Linked DNA regions of Homo sapiens: all the other regions are linked to region 3. The links are contacts of gene promoters, found by promoter capture Hi-C in human tissues and cell types (Jung and others, 2019). All regions are on one chromosome and are shown on one strand. Each heading gives the region's core, a stretch centred on a gene start or on the middle of the fragment in contact. The rest is flanking DNA. Distances are from core to core; before and after follow the strand shown.

What was found. Contacts are between HindIII fragments. The study calls those that stand out against the background at their distance.
Region 1: a contact is called between a fragment that was not itself captured here and the fragment with the promoter of DONSON in region 3, in 2 of the 25 tissues and cell types used here (H1 embryonic stem cells and mesendoderm cells).
Region 2: a contact is called between a fragment that was not itself captured here and the fragment with the promoter of DONSON in region 3, in 5 of the 25 tissues and cell types used here (IMR-90 fibroblasts, heart right ventricle, hippocampus and 2 more).

What each region holds. Positions count from the first base shown.
Region 1 is chr21:33,720,415-33,723,439 of GRCh38, reverse strand. ITSN1 (intersectin 1) reads right to left here. Exons shown (of 40, transcript NM_003024.3): 3 at 2,170-2,262; 4 at 789-852. Among named protein-coding and RNA genes, the nearest start is that of ITSN1, 79 kb to the right of the region's middle. The HindIII fragment of the contact is 4,833 bases long and covers 1-3,025 here.
Region 2 is chr21:33,793,414-33,796,484 of GRCh38, reverse strand. It overlaps ITSN1 (intersectin 1), which reads right to left. Exons shown (of 40, transcript NM_003024.3): 17 at 2,017-2,144. Among named protein-coding and RNA genes, the nearest start is that of ATP5PO, 120 kb to the left of the region's middle. The HindIII fragment of the contact is 8,773 bases long and covers 1-3,071 here.
Region 3 is chr21:33,587,005-33,589,972 of GRCh38, reverse strand. DONSON (DNA replication fork stabilization factor DONSON) reads left to right here and starts at 1,289. Exons shown (of 10, transcript NM_017613.4): 1 at 1,289-1,652; 2 at 2,371-2,451. The coding sequence starts at 1,332. It overlaps CRYZL1 (crystallin zeta like 1), which reads left to right. Exons shown (of 13, transcript NM_145858.3): 13 at 52-632. The coding sequence ends at 151. RefSeq lists an enhancer at 1,101-1,600 and a silencer at 1,059-1,748. The HindIII fragment of the contact is 19,336 bases long and covers 1-2,968 here.

The DNA.
Region 1 (3,025 bases), core at 367-2,866, 130 kb before region 3:
GGTTTCACCGTGTTATCCAGGATGGTCTCCATCTCCTGACCTCGTGATCCGCCCGCCTCGGCCTCCCAAAGTGCTGGGATTACAGGCATGAGCCACCGCGCCCAGCCTACATGCTCTTTCTTCATAGCGAGCTGCCTTCGTATCACTAATTAACTCAGGGAAGTGAAGTATTAAGCACCCTTGGTGAAAAAAATGAGACATCTTAGAGGACAACAGAATTCAGCATGGCTCTCCAAAGCCATGAGCCAAGAATCCAAAACTGTATTTGCCACCCTTTTTATTATACTCTCTGTATTTCCTGTGGCTTAAAAGATTGAATGCCTATTTGTGATAGTCAAATAATTCACTATTATCTATTAATGTTATGGATTTACCATGCACTAACTCTCAAATATTTTCTTTACCTTTTATTCTTCAGTCAATGAAAGATAAAAAATCATTCCATTATAAAGCAAGAAATGTGGGACATTCAAATAAATGTGGGTGATATGGGTGAAGCCAAAACTAATTGGTGAAGGAACACCAAAATTTAGATGTCTCCATGGAAATTCAACTTTTTGACAGTGTTGTCATTCAAATGTCACCACTTTTTTTGTTGTTTTGTTTTAGTTCCATATGAGAAAGACACTTTTCAGACATAACTCTCTGGTAAGAAGTAACAAGATATTTCAGGCTAGAGATACATGTTCTCCTTTTATAACATAAGAAATCATATTACCAAATAGAACAAAACGATATTTTATTTTGCCTTATGCTTATGTAAAATTTCATGTAAAATTCCAACTTACCATATCTGTGCTAAAACAGGTTGAGGTAACCCAGATTGAAAAAAAAAGTTTCTAGCTTGATCACCTGTAAATTAAACAGAAAAAGTTTCAGGAAAAAAAAAAAAAAACAACAGCTGACAGAAATCCTGTAATAGCAAAATTACAAAATTTACAAAGAGGCTGGTAATACTATAAATACCAGTTGAGTGCATTATAAAAGTCCAAGGATAAGCCCATAGGCAACAGTAAAAGAATCCATCAGCACTGACTTTAGAATTCAAAAAATCATCTCAAAAAGGGCCTACCATTTCCTGGCATAGATTTTCCACTTTAATTAATCTGCTATTAACTAAGATATGAACAGCTACCCATTGTGCAAAAGCACATTTATAGAAATCCTTAGGAAACTGATGACCCATACTTTCACTTTATAAAAAAAGTTATTTGCCATTCCCAATACCTATACTCCAAATTCTGGGTACTTCTGAAGTATTTACAGAGAATAAATAACAATGATTAAGAACGACACCTGAGGTCAGAAGTTCAAGACCAGCCTGGCCAACATGGTGAAGCCCCATCTCTACTAAAAATATAAAAAATAAGCTGGGCATGGTAGTGGGTGCCTGTAATCCCAGCTACTTCGGAGGCTGAGGCAGGAGAATCGTTTGAAACTGGAAGGGGAGGTTGCAGTGAGCCGAGATCACGCCATTGTACTCCAGCCTGGGTAACAAGAGCGAAATTCTGTCTCAAAAAAAAAAAGAAGAAGAAAAAATTAGCTGGGCATGGTAGCAGAACAATTCCCCTGGAAATAAAGATTCCACTTTTTATAAAGTGAATTCTGAAAAATAATCAAACAGGAAAATTAGTTTGTTTATTTTTGAGATGGAGTCTCGCTCTGTCACCCAGGCTGGAGTGCAGTGGCGTGATCTCGGCTCACTGCAACCTCTGCCTCTAGGGTTCAAACAATTCTCCTGCCTCAGCCTCCAAGTAGCTGGGATTACAGGCGCCCACCACGACACCCAGCTAATTTTTTATTTTTAGTAGAGACGGGGTTTCACCATGTTGGCCAGGCTGGTTTGGAACTCCTGACCTCAAGGGATCTGCCCACCTCGGCCTCCCAGAGTGCTGGGATTACAGGTGTGAGCCATTGGTCCTTTGATCTTAACCAATTCCCATAAATTACATGCACAAAACAAGTGGTTTGACATGCACTAAAAATTGCAAACAAGGTATGATTCCATTATGTGTAAAAAAATTGTAAAAGGACAGGCACAAGGTTAGGGCAAAACAGGTAAATGTCTCTCCTTGGTCATATTTGCCCATCTCGTCTTTGCATGATAGAGTTTCCACAGACATCTGCACTACTGATAAGTAAAAATGAAAAAATGCTGACTGTGATTACCAGTAATGAATCCAGATATTGGCTTTAAACTATGGAACTGCTGATCATGCTTCGCTCTTTCCTCTACAGTTATGGCCCAGATATCCAGGCTGCCTAAAATCCAAAGAAAAGACAAACAAATTATTCAGTGAGAAAAGGAAAACAAAATGCTCTCACACACTATTTCCACAGCACTTCAAGATTCTGTCAATGTATTATAAAGACTTGATAAATTCACATCTTCTTGTCCTTGGAAGTTATGCATATAAAGTTAGAAAAGTGTAAAACAGGACACAAAATGTAAGAAACAGAAAGAGAGAGAATGGGAGGGAAAGAAAAGAAGAGGCACACATTCCTTTTTTAGAAACTTGTTTTATAATCCCATAGTTAGCAAGATTATAGTAAATTAATAATTTACTTACATAAACCCAAGCAACAGACTAAATTAACTTAAACCTAAAACTGTACTCTCAAGTGCCTTAAATGCCACAGGCAAAAGTTATGAAAGAAGAAGGTGAGTGTGATAAATATCCATGAAAATCTTTTGGGGGGTGATTAAAATATTAATATATTAGATTGTGGTGATGGCTGCACAACTCTATATAATTTGCTAAAAATTATTATACAACTAAAGCTAGTAAATTTTATGGAATATAAATTATATTTCACTAAAGCTGTTTTTAAAAACAGGTATCTCAGTATGCAGGAAACAGACTTAAAAAAAAAGAAGGGCAGGGGATGTCCTGATATGAAATAATAGCCAAAGAGAATGGGTTTTAGGTTTTCCTTCAGTTTCAGCTCTTAGGCTGACTAGATGTCCACTCACGACTGAGATCTTGCAGACTTTAGTCCTAGGTCTCCTCAAATTGACTAAAAT
Region 2 (3,071 bases), core at 200-2,699, 210 kb before region 3:
GAAACAAATTATACTTTTATTCTCCATTGTCAAAAAATTACATTTATTTCTACTCTGTATGAATGTGATATTTTAATGCAGAAGTCTTTAAACTTAAATCTTAAACATTTTATTTACAATTTTTAAAATGTCTTTTAAGAAAGTATAAAAACATTTTTTGGAGGGGTAAGGATATGGTTATTCATGACAACAAAAAAACCATAATAAAAACAGTGGCCAGGCGCGGTGGCTCATGCCTGTAATCCCAGCACTTTGGGAGGCTGAGGAGGGCAGATCACGAGGTCAGGAGTTCTAGACCAGCCAGGAGTTCTAGACCAACATGGTGAAACCCCATCTCTACTAATAATATAAAAATTAGCTGGGCGTGGTAGCACACACCTGTAGTCCCAGCTACTTGGGAAGCTGAGGCAGGAGAGTCGGTTGAACCTGGGAGGCGGAGGTTGCAGTGAGCCGAGATCGTGCCACTGCACTCCAGCCTGGGTGACAGAGCGAGACTCCGTCTCAAAAAATAAAAAATTAAAAAAAAAAAAAAAAGAATTACTTTATATTTTCTACCAATGAAGGTCACCATATATACTGTATAACCATCTAATTTCTGACGTTAATTTGCAGTTTTTATCTATATAATTGGAATACATATTCCATATTATATTTTTATGCTATTTTCTGTATTATGCTATTTTATGTATTTTTCTGTATTTTATGTTTATTTCTACACTGTAGGAATTTAACAGTTCAGTGTGGTATAGTGTGAATAATAAAAGCATTTTATAAACTCTGGGGGTAAGAAAAGGATGGAGTTAATCAACATCCAAGGAGGAGATCCTTAGTCTGACCCCCAAGAAAACCATAAAACAATCCTGTAAATTGGTCTGGGACCCCAGATACCTCCCCACTGGCACTGAAAAACAAACAGAAGACTCTATATACCCATAAGAAAGTATGCACAGCTCTTGGCAGGTTAACTGAACTCAGCCCACTAAAGTCAATGACTTGCCTCAAGTATCCGTTTCTTCGCCTTTTTAATCTAATTTCTTGAGACAGAGTCTTGCTCTGTTGCCAGGCTGGAGTGCAGTGGCATGATCTCAGCTCACTGCAACCTCCGCCTCCCGGGTTCAAGTGATCCTCCTGCCTCAGCCTCCCAAGTAGCTGGGACTACAGGCGCGTGCCACCGTGCCCAGCTAATTTTTTGCATTTTTAATAGAACAGGGTTTCACCATGTTGGCCAGGATGGTCCTAATATCTTGACCTCGTGATCCGCCCACCTCGGCCTCCCAAAGTGCTGGGATTACAGGTGTGAGCCACCATGCCTGGCCTTAATCTAATTTCAATTACCAACTTTTATAATTTACGGGGCTGTCATTGGGACATTTGGTCATTTTTGTTTCGTGGAGTCTAAAATTAACTGACATTTAAAAGGCAAATACCCAGTAACAAAATCAGACACAAATTTCTACAATTTACTACAGTAAGTTACAAGTAAAAATAAAAATATCACAAATAAATCTTCAAACAAAAACAGATAAAAACATGTCTGTATCCTACACACTAAGCAGCGGTGGCAAATTTCCCCCTTTTGTACTAAAGTTTAATTTGCAGTTGAAAAACAGAAGAGGCCCACCCTGACCCTGCTGGAGAAGCCCTGTGTGGGGCACTAGCTCAGTGGCTTGGATTTTAAACCAGGCACTCCAACCCCTGTTAGCTGTTAGTAAAAGGCTGTGAACTGGCCATTAGCATGCAAATGAGCACACCAAGTGTCCCAATTTCCTTGTATAATTCCATTTATCTACATAGTAGTAGCTTGAGAGAGCTCTGGGAACCAACCAAAAACTTCAGAGGGTACTGATACATGCAAAGATTCATATATACACGTGTTTGTGTTTGCACTCACACTTCACATGCACACTAAAGACTGAAGGCTCTTTCTGGTGCAGTAACTACTTGGAGAAGCCAAGCAAAGAATAGTAAATCCTCAAAGTTCCTTCCAGATGAGTCCACAATCCAAAGAAGACTCACCTTTGGGCTTCTTCTTTTTGTTTTTCTAATTCTATGATCTTTCGTTCTTGTTCTTTCTGTTTCAGTCGTTCAGCCTCCATGGACTTTTGCTTCTGGAGTTGTTGCTTATTGTGTATTTCTCTTAGTTCCTATAATTAACCGAGAAACAGTTCATGTAGCGACATGAGTGACAGGTACATCAACTATTTATCAGCATGCAACATTTCATAGTGGGAAGCCTAGGACACTTAGGAGATAACGTTTCAGAGTTGGAAAAAGTCAACTTGGAAAGCTAGAATCACACCACATTTTGACATGACTGATTTCCAAAGGCCACTTAAGATTACATTCTAATGAGCCATACACATTATACCATTTTCCATGATCTGCTCTAGAAGAAACCTGCTAGCGAAGGGCAGGAGGTGAGCTCTGCTGCTAAAGGCTCAGCAATCATAATGGAACGTAACCAGTTCCAAGATATGACGATGATCATGAATAAAACTTAAGCTTCTTTTGATTATCAATCAACACCAACCTTTACTGGCTTTGAAAATACAGATGCCTCTTCTTCACTGACTACCTCCATTCAAACCTCACCTCCACCTTTCACTAAGCTGCCTTAGAACAAATGGACATCTCTTTGCTCCTCAATTCTTTGACCTCAATTCTTCCCCCCAGGGTCTATTTTTCTTCAAGTTGCTCCTCTTCCAGAGCATCTTTTCTTACTAAATCTATCCTTCAAGTCGCTAACTGCCCCAAACTAAACCAGCAATCAGGTTAAAAGTAAAAAGCTATAATTTGATGATGAATACCTTGGATCCAATTTCCTCACTTGATACTACTAGCTGCAGGAATAGCAGTAATTTCCTTAGCAGGCTACTGAAAATAAAATGCATTCTATGATATTTAAAGTACTCAAGTCACAAGTTTAGACACCTGAAAATAGGAAGAATAAGGAAACGTCTGCTGAGGAAGAAACTCCCTGATTCCATAGAAATCAAATGGTCACCAATAGATTGAGTCACTGAAACTCGTCTTATGTGGGCCAGCGATAAATCAGATGAGTCAAAGTGCCC
Region 3 (2,968 bases), core at 40-2,539:
TTCTACTTATCTTTAACTAGACCTGACATTTCTAATTTCATTCCTTCTCAGACCTCAGTTGGATGAACCCATTCCACTGTATGAGGCAAAAGTTTCCATGGAAGCTGTTCAGAAAAATCAAGGAAGAAAAAAGCAAGTTGTTCAATTTTAATTTTCTTCTTTCTCAGACCTCAGTCGGATGAACATATTCCAGTATTTGAAGCCAGAATTTTCTTTGGAAATTGTTGAGAAAAACCAAGGAAGATAAAACAAGTTGCATTTTTAAGCACGTTTCTCTGCTAAGACAAGATGCTCAGTTGACACATTTGAAAAGTGTTTGAAAAATTCTTGTGCAAATGATCAAGATAATTCTATAATTAACATCTTAAGGGAATTTTTCTAAAAACCTTTTCATTGTTTCTATATATTTTGCCCCTGCTATAAAATTCCTTCCATGAAGAAAACTGCTGCTTTCAGCAAAAGTCACACTACTCTTGATAAAAGCTGTTGCAGGCCTTTGCTAAGCTATCAAAGTAACGTATTAATTTTGTATCAACTCCGTTCTCAACACCTTCCTTAAGTCTTTGCTGTCATAATTTAAGCATTTGAGTATATTTTGAAGTCTTAAAAGACTTAGCCCATAGGCACTTAAATTTTGTGTTTTCAACTATTCATTCACTCCGGCTTTCCCCAGGATCAAAGAAGATCCCATTAACTTGCCAGTGGCAGCTGCCTGGAAGTCTGAGATGACCAGGCACTGGGAACGGGGAAGGGAGGGATGTCGGTAGGCTGCGCTGGCATAGGAAGCGTGCTGACGTCTTATCTGAGTTCTCTGGGGGTTGAGGAAGGTGGCCTAGTCCCCTCTCCTCGCCTCTTGAGAGCAGTAGCCACTGCCCTCTCTTAAGTTTATGGAAGCAGCAGCCCATCGCCGCAGCTCAAGTTTGTTTCCTTTTCATCCAGGCGCCAAACCCCGGGCTGATCACATCCCTGCTGCGGGCTTAAATAGAGTTAAGCTATTTCGGTGCCCCACAGGGTAGTGCACATCAGCGCCCTGGATCGCATACTTTCCAGAAGCGTCGCTGAACCTGGCGACTGGACTCTGGCCGAGGACCTGGCAGAAGCGCCAGGGCAGGGTCACCGCTGGGACAGTGGGCGTTGACGGCCACCCGGGATCGCCGCTGCGGGCTGCGTCTCGCGGGCTGCCCACTGCGCATGCTCCGCTCGGAACCGGCGGGGGCGGAGGCGGGGCCGCGTCGGGGGCGGGAGCTCGGCGAGGCGCCACGTCAGGGGCGGGCCCGGCGCGCGCGGGAAGTCTCTGTAGGGCGGCCGGCTACCCTCAGCCGCCGCGCGTCATGGCCCTTTCGGTGCCCGGCTACTCACCGGGCTTCCGAAAGCCGCCCGAGGTAGTGCGGCTCCGACGGAAAAGGGCCCGGAGCCGTGGAGCTGCCGCCTCCCCGCCCCGTGAGCTGACGGAGCCGGCGGCCCGCCGAGCCGCCCTGGTGGCGGGGCTGCCTCTTCGCCCTTTCCCTGCTGCGGGGGGCAGAGGCGGTGGCAGCGGCGGCGGCCCGGCCGCTGCTCGGAGGAACCCCTTCGCCCGCCTGGACAACCGACCGCGGGTCGCCGCGGAGCCCCCCGACGGGCCGGCCCGCGAGCAGCCGGAGGCCCCGGTCCCGGTGAGTGTCTTGTAGCCTGGCCGCCAAGGGGCTCTTGTCTTTCGTGGGTTGAGCCAGCTGTGAATGGGGGATGGAAAGTCCTCGCGTTCGAGGCAAGGAAATGGGCGCGAAGACTTCGGCCGCCCGTGGCCTTAGGGTACCCCGCCCTGGGAGCCGCGATTCTGGCAAGGCCGGGTTTGTGGGAAGAGCGCTCCCCTGGCTACCCCGCTGCGGGCTGTGCTCACGGGACGCGTTCCCGAGGAAAGTGAGGGGGCCCCAGAGGGCAGCGAGGAGCCCCTTGGAGAGGACTTAGAGGTGACTTGGAAAAGAGCTCGAAAAACCCTGAGAGCCCCCATCTTGCAAGGACGCTGTTCGATGGGGCAGGTGACAAGCCCTGCTTCCCCCGTGATTTAGGGCCTCCCTTCTCTCACGCACTCCAAATTATTCTGGAGATGGGGGAATGTCGAGGATTCGTGGGGTCAGAATTCACTAGCATCTGTCTTACCCAAAGCCTTTTGGATCTTTCGGTTTGAAACGCCGGTCCCTGTTCCCCTCAATTTTGATACTAAAGTTCAGACACAAAACTGAAGTGTTGAAACTCATAGATTGGATGGGGTGCCTCTGAATTTAGGTGTACTTGCGTTTATTGAGAAACATGTATGCCAGGTGAGGCTCTGTACATATTTAACGCAAACTTCAGCATCCTTTAAATTTTAAAGGAGAATATATTTAACCTCAGTTTTTAGATTCTAATCAAGAAAATGATTTGCTATGGGAAGAGAAGTTTCCTGAAAGAACAACTGTTACTGAATTACCTCAGGTAATACTTTTTAAATATCATTAGAATGTGTATTTGTATAAACTTTTTTTTCATAGGATTTGAGCCTATTTTTAAAAATACATTTATACTTCTCAGAAGCATTTTGCTTGGAAAGTAGTTTTACAGAGAGGCTTGATCATCTCAACCAGGGATGAAAATACCGCATCAGCCAAGGTAAAGGAGTTGGTTTGATACAGTAATGATGACTGTAAAGATAGCCAGCGCTAAAATAGGCCTGATAGACGTGGGGGTTTTCTTTTACTCTCTAACAGTTTTTACCACTCTTCTTTGGGCAGTTGACTTCTCCAGTTCATCACTCAGAGCCAGCCCTCCTGGCCCACCTCCACAGGTTGTGGCATAGCACTGAACCTCGTTGCTCCTCTCCCCTAACACACACACGTTTCCATTCCCCAACTACTACCATTGTGCTGTGTAGTTTGATAAATGCGGTTTGTCCTAATGGGAACAGGCTAGAAGAGTTCTCCAAGACCCAGTTTCTCTTGTAAATAAGTGACCT